Regions from separate parts of the Homo sapiens genome. Here region 2 is linked to region 1. Evidence: promoter capture Hi-C in 16 types of primary human blood cells and fetal thymus (Javierre and others, 2016). All regions are on one chromosome and are shown on one strand. The core of a region is centred on a gene start or on the middle of the fragment in contact, and the rest is flanking DNA. Distances in the headings are between cores, read along the strand shown.

Region 1 (6,698 bases), core at 1,264-3,763:
CAACATGGTGAAACCCCATCTCTACTAAAAATACAAAATTTAGCCGGGCATGGTGGCGCATGCCTATAATCCCAGCTACTCGGGAGGCTGAGGCAGGAGAATCACTTGAACCCGGGAGGCAGAAGTTGCCGTGAGCTGAGACTGCACCACTGCACTCCAGCCTGGGCAACAACAGCTGAACTCCATCTCAAAAAAAAAAAAAAAAAAAGCATTACTGAAAGAATAAATGAAGGAAGGAATGAGTGCTACTTTCATTAGCCACTAAATGTTATACCTCATACCTCTAGATTACTCTTTAGAGAAATCCTATCCCCAAATTTCATAGTTGAGGAAATTGGAACTGAGAGCTTAACTGATTTGCCACAATTCATACTGTGTAATATATATGTTAAAATACATAGACTCAGCTGTGCACGGTGGCTCACGCCTGTAATCCCAGCACTTTGGGAGGCTGAGGAGGACGGATCACTTGAGCTCAGGTTCAAGACCAGCCTGGGGAACGTGGTGAGACCTCATCTCCACAAAAAATTAGCCAGGCATGGTGGCACTTGCCTGCAGCCCCAGCTACTTGGGAGGCTAAGGTGGGAGGACTGCTTGAGCCCAGGAGGTCGAGGCTGCAGTGAGCCATGAACGTGCCACTGCACTCCAGCCTAGGAAACAAAGCAAGACCCTGTCTCAAAACAAATAAAAATAAAACACATACACTATACGTATAGCATATACTGTACGGTGCTGCTCAGCATTAATGGTGTACTTTACCCAGCTGGTTGTAAGCTCCATATCTCAGGACCTACACACTACCCACAGGCCCCTTGAATGTTTCGAAAATTCCACAGGCCTTAAGGTCTGTATCACAAAAGATGCAGCTATGTCCCTTTCTCTATTATACCACTAACTTGGCAGGGGTAAAATGGGTGAAACTGAGGAGAACAGCTCCACTCCTCGAGGTGCTCAACCACAGGCTAGGTGATCCAGTACTTACCAAGGGCTTACTATGTGCCAGGAGCTGGAGCAGATAAGGGTTCAAACAATTTGGTCTTTGAAGGAGCTGTGTATACCGCAATAGACAGATAAGGCTCAGAAATAATTACAAGAGCAAAAAGGCAAATGCTTAACAAAGAGATGTGGGTACACACATTTAGGGGAGTATTGAAAGTATCGGTCTAGAAAACGTGGAGATGTGGATACACAAAGAGATGTGAGTACACACATTTAGGGGAGTATTGAAAGTATCGGTCTAGAAAACGTGGAAGGTAGCTTCAGCAGAGATCAGAGCATGTAGAATAGCAGCCTCAGTGTCAAAAGATCACGACCATTCCTGACTTTGCCATCACCTGTGCAAGTGACCTCTGTAAATCGCTCTGTTTCCTCATATATAAACCTACAGCTAGATGAGATGTTTCTCCTACAATCACCCAGCTCTCTAAGTGTATTAGAGATGCCTAGGTTCAAAGTCAGATGCCTAGGTTCAAATCTTAACACTGTTAAAAAGTCGCTTGACCTTGAGCTGGGGAATTAATTGCTCCGTGCCTCAGTCTCCCCACTTCCGAACAGAGGGCTGGTGTGATCATTAAATACTACTGCACTGTCAATCACTTCGCGCAGGGCCTTGGCAAGTAGTAAGCCCTCAATAAACGATAGTTATTATCCGGAGGAGCTGCAGGAGGCAAACACCAGATGCAAGGGTTGTGCCTGCTGCGCTCCCAGGGCCCTCCCAGGCCTGAGCCATCATCCCTGGGGGGATGGGAGCGCAGGGCCGGGGCTGCACACTCTGCACGCATGTGTCACCGGCCAGGCTCCGCACGCGCCTCTCCCCGCCATGGGGAGAGCAGCGATGGCTCAGCAGCCCCGGGGCCCATTCCCACCCTTCCGGTAGGGCACCCCAGGAGGGAAGGGGGCTCCAATTCCACTTACCATGCTGGCCGGGGAGGGGGCGGCTCAGATGAGCTGGTTCTTGGGCTTCGGACACGTCCCGCTCGCACAGTTCAGGTCATGGTCCCGGCAGACTCGGGAAGTCCCCCACCCATGCAAAGACAACCCCTTCCCCACCGGGCCCCGAGGGGACCCTCTAAAAAGGGCAGGGCCGCCCGGGTCGCCTCATCGGGGGACCCCGAGACAATTCATCCAGACCCACCCGCCCCTCCCCAAGGAAACTGAAAAAGCAGGAAATGAGGCTCGGATGCCGGCGAGGAGGGCAGCTGCTCGGGACCCCCGCCCGGGCCCGACCCCCGCGGGGGAGGCTGCGGGCCCAGGCAGGGGCTCCCCGGCCTCCGCGGGCAGAGGTGGCGGCGGCCCCGGCCCCGAGGCTGAACGGGCGGAGGCTGACAGGCCTCGACCGCGCGGCCCAGGCGGCCGGCTCAGGGGAGAGGCCCGGGGGCCCGCGCTGTCCTCGCAGCCTCAACCCACACGGCCACTGCCGCCGCCCCCTAGAGCATCCTTGCGCGCGCCCGCCCTGGAGCCGCCCGCTAGTACCGCGCGGCCGCCCCCGACCAACAGCCCCAACGCGCCGGAAGTGGCGAGCGCCGGGCGGCCCCACAGCGCGGCCGCCGGGCTGCGGCGCTGGAACCGGACCAATCCGGAATCGAGCGGGGCGAGCGGGGGGAGCGGGCGGAGGGCGGAGGGCGGGGCTGCACCTGACGGCTCCCACTGGCCCCGCCTTCTTACCACGCCCTCTCTTGCCCCGCCCCCTGCGCCCACCGCCCGTGCGTCCACGCGGGCCGGCAGCCATCTTGGTAAAGGGAGCCCGGGCTGCCATTTTAGTAAAGGCGTGGTTTCCCTTTCGCTTTTTTCGCCCATTCATTCCGCTAAAATTTTAGTGAGTGCCTTTTACGGGCGGAGCATCGAGCTGGCAGCGTGACGACACGCGGCCCTATGGAGCTTACATTCATGCAGTCCACACACTCTTGCCCGACTATATTCCAGGCCCTGCTGTGGATGCTAGGACAGGGGAGATAAACGTAACTTCGATAGCCAAGGTGCTGAGAGAGGCAGAGAATGTGTTGGATTCCTGTTCCCATCCTCCAATCCACTTTACTCGTGAAAGTGCTCATCTTTATTTTGTTTTATTTTTGGGGACAGGTTCTTGCTCTGTTGCCCAGGCTGGAGTGCGGTAACACAATCATGGCTCACTGCAGCCTCAACCTCCTGGTGCGCCACCATGCCCAGCTAAATTTTTTTATTTTTTGCAGAGGTGAGGCCTCCTTTTGATGCTTGGGCTGGTCTGGAACTCCTGGGCTCAAGCAGCTTTCCTGCCTCAGCCTTCCAAAGTGCTGGGATTACAGGTATGAGTCATCCAGCCAGGCTGAAAGTGCTAATTTTAAGAAACAGTCAGGAAACTATCCCAAACAGCTGAGGTTGAGCCCGCGGGTGTGCCTACTACATAGATTGGAGCAAATCTATGTAACCCAATGGCCCTTGTCAACCTTAAATAACGAGATTGAGAAAATAGTATTTAAGTATAGGGTTTATTCAAGCCCGAAGCTTGAAGATGGCCCACCAGAAGTATAGTCCAATTAGTGGCAGTTACAAATGGGGTTTCCTTGTTTGTTTGTTTGTTTTTAAGACAGGGTCTTGCTCTGTCGCCCAGACTAGAGTGTAGTTTGTTGTTGTTGTTGTTTGAGACGGAGTCTCGCTTTGTCGCCCAGGCTGGAGTGCAATGGTGCAATCTCAGCTCACTGCAACTTCCGCCTCCCGGGTTCAAACGATTATCCTGCCTCAGCCTCTCGAGTAGCTGGGACTACAGGCACCCACCATGATGCCCGGCTATTTTTTTTATTTTTAGTAGAAACGGAGTTTCACCATAGTGGCCAGGCTGGTCTTGAACTCCCGACCTCAGGTGATCCGCCAGCCTCGGCCTCCCAAAGTGCTGGGATTACAGGCGTGAGCCCTCCCGCCTGGCTTCAAGTGGGTTTCTAAGGAAAAAAGAGGCATAACATAAGGTTGAATAGGAATGATGAGAAAGGGGGAAAAAATAACATAAGCTATTGCCTATACATTGTTCTTTGTATCACAAATTTCAGGAACCTGAAGGAAATGGGGGAGGCAGCTAGTCTGGAACAAAATATCTTTAAACAATTGTCCCCGAGCATGTGGAGGTGGGAGTGTGCCCGAACTCCCATACACAAGTCTCAGTGGACCTGACAAATTTTGCATACTTCACATAACTCAGACTTCCCTGAGCTATTTTTCTTTCCTGTCAAACCTCAGTGTGATCTGAATCAATTCACCCAGAAGGACTGTTAAAACAAAGATTACTCGCTCCACTCATAGACTTTCCCATCCAGTAGGTTTGAGATGGGGCTGAATAATTTGCATTTCTAACAAGCTCCCAAATGAAGCTGATGCTGCAGGTCTAGATACCACATTTGGAGAACCACTGATACAACACTTTACCACTGAAAGCAATAGCTTTCAGGGGTTTTTTAGTTTTTTGTTTGTTTGTTTGTTTGTTTGTTTTTGGAGAAAGGGTCTCACTCTGTTGCAGTGACATGATCATGGCTCACTGCAGCCTCAAACTCCCAGCCTCAAGCACTTTTTTTTTTTTTTTAATGAGACAGAGTTTCGGTCTTGTTGCCCAGGCTGGAGTGCAATGGCATGATCTCGGCTCACCGCAACGTCCGCCTCCTGGGTTCAAGCAATTCTCCTGCCTCAGCCTCCCAAGTAGCTGGGATTACAGGAGCCCACCACCGCACCCAACTAATTTTTTGTATTTTCAGTAGAGACGGGGTTTCACCATGTTGGTCAGGCTGGTCTCAAACTCCCGACCTCAGGTGATCCACCCGCCTCGTCCTCCCAAAGTGCTGAGATTACAGGCATGAGCCACCGCGCCAGGCCATCAAGCACTATTTTTTTTTCTCTTGAGAGGGAGTTTCGCTCTTGTTGCCCAGGCTGGAGTACAATGGTGCAATCTCGGCTCACTGCAACCTCTGCCTCCCAGGTTCAAGCAATTCTCCTGCCTCAGCCTCCCAAGTAGCTGGGATTACAGGCACCTGCCACCACACCCAGCTAAATTTATTTTTGTATTTTTAGTAGAGACGGGGTTTCGCCATGTTGGCCAGGATGGTCTCACCTCCTGACCTCAAGTGATGCGCCCACCTCGACCTCCCAAAGTTCTGGGATTACAGGCATGAGCCACCATGCCCAGCCTCAAGCACATTTATTTTATCAAATCTTTATTGTTGTCCACTAAGTGACAGTCACTATTTCAAGGATTCAATGCTGAGCAAAACAAATATATGTGTGCCCTTATGGAATTTAAAGACAAATTATTTGTAAAATATTGTACAATAATGGATCAGTTATTGTGATAAGAGCAATGAAGGAAAAATTGAAACTAACATGATATAACTTTAATATAGTTTACACGCTAATAAGGCCAAGGGATCTAAAATAATCTGGCAGATTAGGATGGGGAGGAAGTCAGGAAGTGACATTTCTTTAAGCTTTGGCCTTAAAGAAGCAGGAGTTTGCTAGGCAAAGAGAGGGGGCATAGAACATTCCAGGCAGTAGAAACAGCATGTACAAGAGAAGCCATCTCAGTAGGTAAGCTGATGAATCGGAATGGAGGCCAAGTCACTTACTTGGCTTAGTTTAGTAGGATGAGTGAAAGCTTTGGGTTGAGACTCATTTGGAGTGGAATCCAGCTCTTAACTTCACTAGCTAAGGTATCTTGAGTTATTGACTCTCGAAGTCTTGGTTTCCTTACTGTAAAATTGAATGAGATAACAGAAATGCAACTGACTCACTTAAGGGTATGCCTTTGGGTTACATAACTGGACTTCCAGAGATTCATTAGCTTTTGGCTGGGTGTGATGGGAGGCCTAGATCCATTCCTCTAGGATTTTCTTTTTTTTCTGTGTGTGGTTTTGTGTGTGTTTGTTTGTTTGTTTGTTTGTTTTGTTTTGTTTTATTTTTTTGAGACAGGGTCTCAGTCTGTTCTCCATGCTAGAGTGCAGTGGCGCAATCACAGCTCACTGCAGTCTCGACCTCCCAAGCTCAAGCAAGCCTCTCACCTTAAACTCCCAGTTAGCTGGGACTACAGGTGTGCGCCACTATGCCCAGCTGATTTTTTTTTTTTCAGCAAAGACAATGTCTCACTGTGTTGCCCAGGCTAGTCTCCAACTTCTGAGCTCAAGTGATCTGCCCACCCCGGCCTCCCAAAGTGCTGGGATTACAGGCATGAGCCACCACGCCCGGCCATTCCTCTAGGACTTCCTTGCTCTGCTCTTCTCCATTATCAGACTTGTTGTCAAGGTGGTTGCCAGGAACAGCCAGGGCCACAAAATTCCCTGTTCAAATCCAGCAAAAGAGAGCACCTTTTGGCCGGGCACAGTGGCTCACACCTGTAATCCCCAACACTTTGGGAGGCCAAGGTGGATGGATCGCTTGAGGTCAGCAGTTTGAGACCAGCCTGGCCAACTGGTGAAACCCCATCTCTACTTAAAAATACAAAAATGAGGCTGGGCATGGTGGCTCATGCCTGTAATCCCAGCACTTTGGGAGGCCGAGGTGGGTGGATCACCTAAGGTCGAGAGTTTGAGACCAGCCTAGCCAATATGGAGAAACCCCGTCTCTACTAAAAATACAAAAAATTAGCCAGGTGTGGTGGCGCATACCTGTAATCCTAGCTACTTGGGAAGCTGAGGCAGGAGAATCGCTTGAACCCGGGAGGCGGATGTTGTGGTGAGCCGAGATTGCAC
Region 2 (6,698 bases), core at 2,758-5,257, 570 kb before region 1:
TGCCTGATCTCAGTGCTGAGGAGCAAGGCCTGGAGGACACACAGCCTGGAGGCCTCCTTTTGTCCCCTGCAATGAATATTAATTTGTTGCTAATGAGGCCTTTCTTCACTTCTCACTTAAGACAGTTCTTCTACTTGTTTTGAGAGCCTTCTATTATCAGGAGCCATATTTGTGTCTTAGATTGTGGCTTAATAGCTGGCCCTAGAGTCTGTGCAATTTAAAAAACTTGGCCTAAGATTAATTAGCATCCTCCTCAGTCTCTCCTTGTGGTCCCACACTTCACAGGGCCTAATCATAGCTAATTTCCTGATTTCCTGATGCCTCGAGGGCTGTAATTGTCCTTCTACACTGTATCAGTCAGGGGTCAGTCAGTGCCTAACAGCAGAGACCACTCAGGCTATTTTAAGCAGAAACAAATGCAGTGCAGGGAGTCGGGTGCTTACGAAGTCCTTGGGCTAGCATGAGGAGGGGACTCTGGGCTGGGCCTCTAGGAATGGTGCCTCAAAAGCATGGCCACTTAGCCTGGGCCTGCCAGGAGAGCGGCTGCCTAGGACACCATTGGGAAGGTGGGGTATCAGCATCAGGAAGGTGTCACCTTAGCTGCAATCCAGGAATCAGGGAGTTACTGCCCCAGCTGTTGGCCTCAGAGTGACTCCATGCCTGCTGGGACAGCGCTATGAAGACCCTGCCCCGCAGCCTGGCTAGCCAGTCAGGAACATTATGGAAGAACTCCATGCCCTGTGCTTAGCACTGAAACAGCCAACATCTATCCCCCTCCTCTCCTCACCTCACTTCTGCTTTCCCTGGCTCGTGTGAGGCCATCTGATTGGCTGAACCTAAATCACACCCAGAACCCAAGCCAAAATGTAACCATAATAGGTCCATTGCACGATGCTGGCAAGTCTATACACATAGACCCTGGGTTTCAGCAGAGAGAGAGATTTAATTGTAGGGCCGCCAAACGAGGAGATGGAAGGAAACCTCAAATCTGTCTCCCGGAGGAGTTTGGGGCCAGTGTTTTTAAGGGTTTTGGAGTAGGCTGATGTGTGGAGATCATTGATTGGTGGAAGAGTGCAGGGGGAAGTCACGGGACAGGGAGATGAAGAAGCTGTGTTCTCACGCAGATCCCGTTCTTCTGTGGGGGGCCTTCAAACTGGCTAGCGTGAGTTGTTTTGCTGGAATTTAAGATCTGAAAAACATCTTAAGCAATTCTTAAACAAAAGCCTTAATGATTCTACAGTCAGAAATCTATAAGGAATAATGGGAATGCTAATGGTCAGTATCCAGTGAATTTCAGTTACAAGGAAGTGGGTCAAAGTGCAGTGATTAATGCTGAATTATAACTATATTCTGTGAGAATTCTTGTTAACCCTGTGAGGACAGCTTTAGAAAGGGAGTCTGGGAAATGCAGTATTTGGCTTTCTGGCCTCTACCCCACAGAAAGGCTCCCCAGGAGGAGTGTGGGATGGGTACCGAGAGCCGGCCCCCTCCAGTCTAGAGCATGGACTCTGCTCCACACACCCAGGCTTTTGGGAACCAACCTTAAAGATAGACACAAACCAGGGAGCATTCAAAAGTGGTGAATGAACTACATGTGTCATGAATGAAATCATCTGTTAATTTAACAGACATGTATTGATACCCAGCAGGGCCCAGGCACTGTGCAAGGCTCTAGGGTTCAAAAAAAAAAAAAATTCAAGAAGGCTCAGTTCCTGCCTTTGAAGCTCGGGCTGTGAAGACATGGGGACTGCTTAACTGGGAGGAGGGTGTGACACCTGACTTCAAATACATGGATGGCGGGCCTGGCGGGGTCCAGAAGTTAACCACTTGAAGCCTGTGGGTCAAACTTGCCCCCAGATAATGGTTGTTGGGCTCATACAGCTTTTAAAAGACTTTTCGAAGCTTGCCAACATTTAAATTAACAAGATTTTATATTAAAAATATATCTAGCCAGGTGCAATGGCTCATGCCTCTAATCCTAGCACTTTGGGAGGCCGAGGAAGGAGGATCACCTGAGCTCAGGAGTTCAAGACCACCCCAGGCAACATAGTGAGTCCCATCTCTACTAAAAATAAAAAAATTAGCCAGGCATAGTAGCGCACACCTCTAGTCCCAGCTACTGAGGAGGCTGAGACAGTTAGGATCGCTTGAAGCCAGGAGTTCAAGGGTGCAGTGAGCCATGACCGCACCACTGCACTCTAGCCTGGGGGACAGAGCAAGACCCTATCTCAAAATCAAAAATCTAGATCTCTTCTTCCCTGGAAAAAATGGAAAAGTCTGGCCCCCACGCTGGGCCATCCTCCTCCCCACTAGGCAGCCAGCAGCAGGAGCCAAGTCCAGCTACTGCCTTTGGATAGGGCATGAGCTTTCCTGTTTGCCAAAGTCCCCACCACTCCCCAGAGCTTCAGTGGTGAGGCTGAGTGGTAGCTGTGGTTTATTATCAGATTTAGGCTATGATTTCTCTTATCTCGTGTTTCCATTTCCCGTCTGGTTCTTTGGGGCATTTGAATTTGTAGCCCCTGGAGAGTGGAAGGAGTAGGCTTTGGACTGCTCACTGGCTGTGTGTCCTGGAGCTGGCTGTGTAACCTCTCTGAGCTATGTACGTGTAACCTCTGTGAGCTGTGTGCCCTGGAGCTGGCTGTGTAACCTCTCTGAGCTGTGTGCCCTGGAGCTCTCTGTGTAACCTCTCTGAGCTGTGTGTCTTGGAGCTGGCCATGTGACCTCTCTGAGCTGTGTGCCCCAGAGCTGGCTGAGTAACCTCTCTGAGCTGTGTGTCTCGGAGCTGGCTGTGTAGCCTCTCTGAGCTGTGCACCCCAGACCTGGCCATGTAACCTCTGTGAGCTGTGTGCTCTGGAGCTGGCCGTGTAACCACTCTGAGCTTTGGTTTCATCATCAATGAAACCTCCCAGGGCTGCTGGAGGGGAGCATGTGCAGCGTGCATTACAGGTGGTCTCAGCAGGGGCTGCCTGCTGCTTCAGGTGGGAACAGGTGACAGACAAGTCCAGAGGAATGGCTAAGAGCATAGACCCTGGAACCTTCCAGCAGCCCCAGTGCAAAGCCTTGGCTCCGCCTCCTGCCAGCTGCACAGTGGCTAAGACGCTTAACCCCTTGGTGCCTGCGCTCTCATTTGTCATGTGAGGTTGGTAATGGTAATTAATGAGGGCAATTAATGAGGATCAGTGGGGTCTGTGTTTGGAGAGAAGCTGAAGCAGTGCCTGGCACAGGAGAAATAGTGAATGGTGCTGCCTGTTGTTGTTTTAATCACAGAGGGGCAGATGGGGAGGGCAGCTCAGCCTGGAGGCCTCAGGGCTCTTCACTCTAGTATGTTCCTTTGCTCACTCATACTTTACTTCTTTCATTCCGTGCTCATGTATTGAGCACATACTCAGTTTTGGCACTTACAGATGCCGGGTTCCAAGCAATAAGTGAGGCCAGCCCTGCTCTCCTGGAGCTCATGTTGATGGGGAGCGGGTGGGGAGGTTGGGAAGGCAAAGGACCAAAGGCAAGCAAGGGAGTCGGAAGACAGTGCTACGAAGGAAGGACAGAGGACAGCAGCCTGAAAGAGAAGCTGTCGGGGGAGCGCTCCTTCAGCGAAGGTGGGCAGCACAGCCTCCCAAGGGGCCGCATCGCAGCCAGGGCCTGAGAGTTACCTGGAGCCAGCCCCGGAAAGATCTGTGGCTGGGGGAGGCTTTCAGGTGAGGGGACAGTGAGAGCAGCGGGCACTGGGCACAGGCTGAGAGGAGGCAGGGCGATCAGGACAGGGTGGCAGAAAGGGTGGGGATGAGGGTGTCAGGGTTGCAAGTAGGAAGAACCGGCCATGCAGGGCCTAGAAGACCACAGGAGGAAGTTTGGATTTCAATCTAAATGTGAGAATTTCCAAGAGGGTTGAAACAGTAGAGCGCCACGTTTGGGTTCATATTTTGGGTTCATGTGTGCAGAAAGGACCGCCCATGGGAGCAAGGGGCTACAGGAGGACCAGGAAGCCTTTGAAGCAGGGCTACGTCTCTCTCCACCAACCTTCCCCAGCCCCCGTCCTTGCACTTCTGTTCCCTGTCCCTGAGCTGCCGCCAACTCGTAGCTTCAGTGTTCCCCTGATCCATCGTGCCTTCTCCACACACGGTTTTACACTCCCTCCATATTTGTTAGTTGAAAGTTTCCAAGACAGAGACAGTCTGAATCTCTCAGCTCATCCCTTTCTCAGGGCATGGCCTGGGCTGCTGCTGCTTAGCCTGGATGAGGCACCCCCTCCTACCTCCATCGGCTATGACTAGAGCCCCTCAGAGACCAGTTCATTTGGTGCAAACCCTGCCTGCCCTGGCCACATGAGCAGGAACCATGAGTCCTATAGCTTCTTGTCAAGAAGGCTGGAGGTAGCAGAGTGAATAGACTGGGGGTGCCAGCTATACCATTATTACCGTCATGAGGAAGACAGGCTGGATTGGTTTGCTCTGGCTCCAAGAAGTGGAGTTAAGTCCAAAGTTTCTCCATGGTAGACAGTCCATGGAGACAGAGTCTTGGGTCCATGGGATGGAGAGGAAGACAATCTTTCTATCCTAACCCTTTTGGATGGGCTCCTGCCATGCTTAGGGGCAGCCAAGGTAGGCAGAGTGGTCAAGGCAGCCAAGTCCCCAGTGGCCAGTGGCCAGTTCTCAAAAGCTGCTCCACCAAGAGAGGGACCACAGTCCTCTCCCGGTCTTGGGGTTTCACTTGTAGGGCCATGCCAACCAGGAGGTATCAGTGGGGCCACACGGTCGCCTTGTGTATTCACATTGGTCAGCAGGGGACACCGTGGTGGGATGCAGTGGTCCCAGTGCACAGTGAGCACCTGCAGTCCCAGCCTTATTCACAGTCCACACAGCCCCCTTGCCTCCCCATTCACCCTCTGTACTCTCCTCCTGGCTGTCTTGCTGGATTTTTTTTTTTTTTTTTTTTTGAGACAGGTTCTTGCTATGTAGCCCACACTGGTCTTGAACTCCCGGGCTCATGCGATCCACCCACCTTGGCCTCCTAAAGTGCTGGGATTAACAGACGTGAGCCACTGCGCCCAGCCCTGAAACTCTCTTGAATCACACACCCTGTTTCTACTGACCAAGCCCAATCCATTCACCGCCTCCAGGAGAACAGGTTTCTCTTCTTACGGTCTCACCCAACAATAAGAAAGCACATTTGGGTAGAGCTGCCCTGACAGGAGGGGCTGCGTCAGGTACACTGGCCTCCAGATCCCTTGACCAGAAGGTCACAGAGTCATCCCAACTCTGGCTCCTGGCCAAGAAGCCGATGACTTCCACCTGTAAAACCCTTCCCAAGCCCCTCAGATTCCTGGGGGTTTGGGGAGGATCATGGCGATGGCTGTGTTGGGCTCCCGAGCTGCCACCTTCCCTGTGGAATGGGCTGGTGGTGATGTATGGCCTCTTGTTCATACTGTCCTTTTCCCCCCACCACTTCTGGGCCTTAGATCTTTATGCTGCTATCTGTGGATTAAGATTTATGGCTTCCTCAGCCTTGTAATACTTGGGTGGACAGCGGCCTAATCAACAGAGCCGTCGTTTACCAAAATGCTGTCAGATTTGATGAACGTCATCGGCTCTTAGCATTAAATTGCTAGTGAAGGGATTGGCCTTCCAGCAATTTACTGTGGGGTGGGCGTTCCTTAAAGGTCTCTAAAGCAAGTTCATTGCAATTATTAAAGCAGAGGCTTTGCTCTCACTCAGCCACCATATCCTGTGTCCTGTTGTGGCCTGTGCAGCTTCAGCACCTTCAGAAAATCTCACAAGTAAAAATGGGAAGTGTTGGGGGCCCTGTCTCTTGTTATCTTCCTTCTGAGTTCTGAAACCCTTGCAGTGAGGACGACAAATGAAACAAGCCGTAAAGCATTGGCCTTTCCAGTGACCTTGCACAACACAGACTGTCAGAGTGGGGAGCACTGCTATTTCTAAGAGATCAGACAAATCAGGGATGAACACATCAAGTCAGCCGGACCTCCCAACCCTAGACCTACCTTTGTCAGTGTTTTAGAGCTCTCGTACCTCTAGAGGGAGCCATTTGCATACTGCACAACCCACACAACCATATGGGGCAGCCCCCAGCCTTGCTCTTTTTTTCTACTTGACAATAAGCTTTAATGCACACCTTTTAAAACAGTTTGCGAAGAGGGGTGGCAGATATGAACAAATAACTCTAGGCATGAACTGGGCTGAGTGTGGGCCAGGTATGAAATAAGCTGGCCTTGGGTTGCAAAAAGGAACATGGATTTGGGGATGTCACTGCTTTTAAATCCTCCTCCCCCATATGATTGATACTGCAAGGGTCTACCCAGGTCTGGGTGCTGCAAGTAGGCAAGAAAGAGCAGCCGCTTTGAAACACCCACTCAGGTACAGCAGCGTGCCAAGCGGGGAGCTAGCCAGGTGCACAGTCATCATCCCTTGCAAGGGCGTGGAGGTGGGAGGCAGGGAGCCATGCACGGCCTGGGGGGCTGGGTTGGAACCTGCCAGCCTGGGCTGCTCACTGGAGGTGAGCCTTCCGTGTGGGCAGGGCTGCTTTCAATCTCCTCCCAGTGGTGGCAGAGGAGCCTCCCTGGGGCTGGGGGCGGGAGAGCAGGCCAGATGGAGGGACTATTTATTCCCCTCTCCAGCACCCACTCAACATTAGAAACTCTTTCTGGACCACATTAATTTTGTCACATGTTGCTTCATAAACAC

Evidence for each region. Contacts are between HindIII fragments. The CHiCAGO score rates a contact against its expected background, and 5 or more counts as called.
Region 2: a contact is called between a fragment that was not itself captured here and the fragment with the promoter of XPO6 in region 1, in 1 of 17 cell types (megakaryocytes). The highest score is 5.3, in megakaryocytes.

Annotation. Positions count from the first base shown.
Region 1 is chr16:28,209,452-28,216,149 of GRCh38, forward strand. It overlaps XPO6 (exportin 6), which reads right to left and starts at 2,514. Exons shown (of 24, transcript NM_015171.4): 1 at 1,915-2,514. The coding sequence starts at 1,917. RefSeq lists an enhancer at 1,634-2,632 and a silencer at 2,262-2,751. The HindIII fragment of the contact is 3,886 bases long and covers 1-3,478 here.
Region 2 is chr16:27,633,924-27,640,621 of GRCh38, forward strand. The region is part of intron 5 of KATNIP (katanin interacting protein); the gene reads left to right. Among named protein-coding and RNA genes, the nearest start is that of KATNIP, 87 kb to the left of the region's middle. RefSeq lists enhancers at 1-416, 2,897-3,397. The HindIII fragment of the contact is 4,214 bases long and covers 1,901-6,114 here.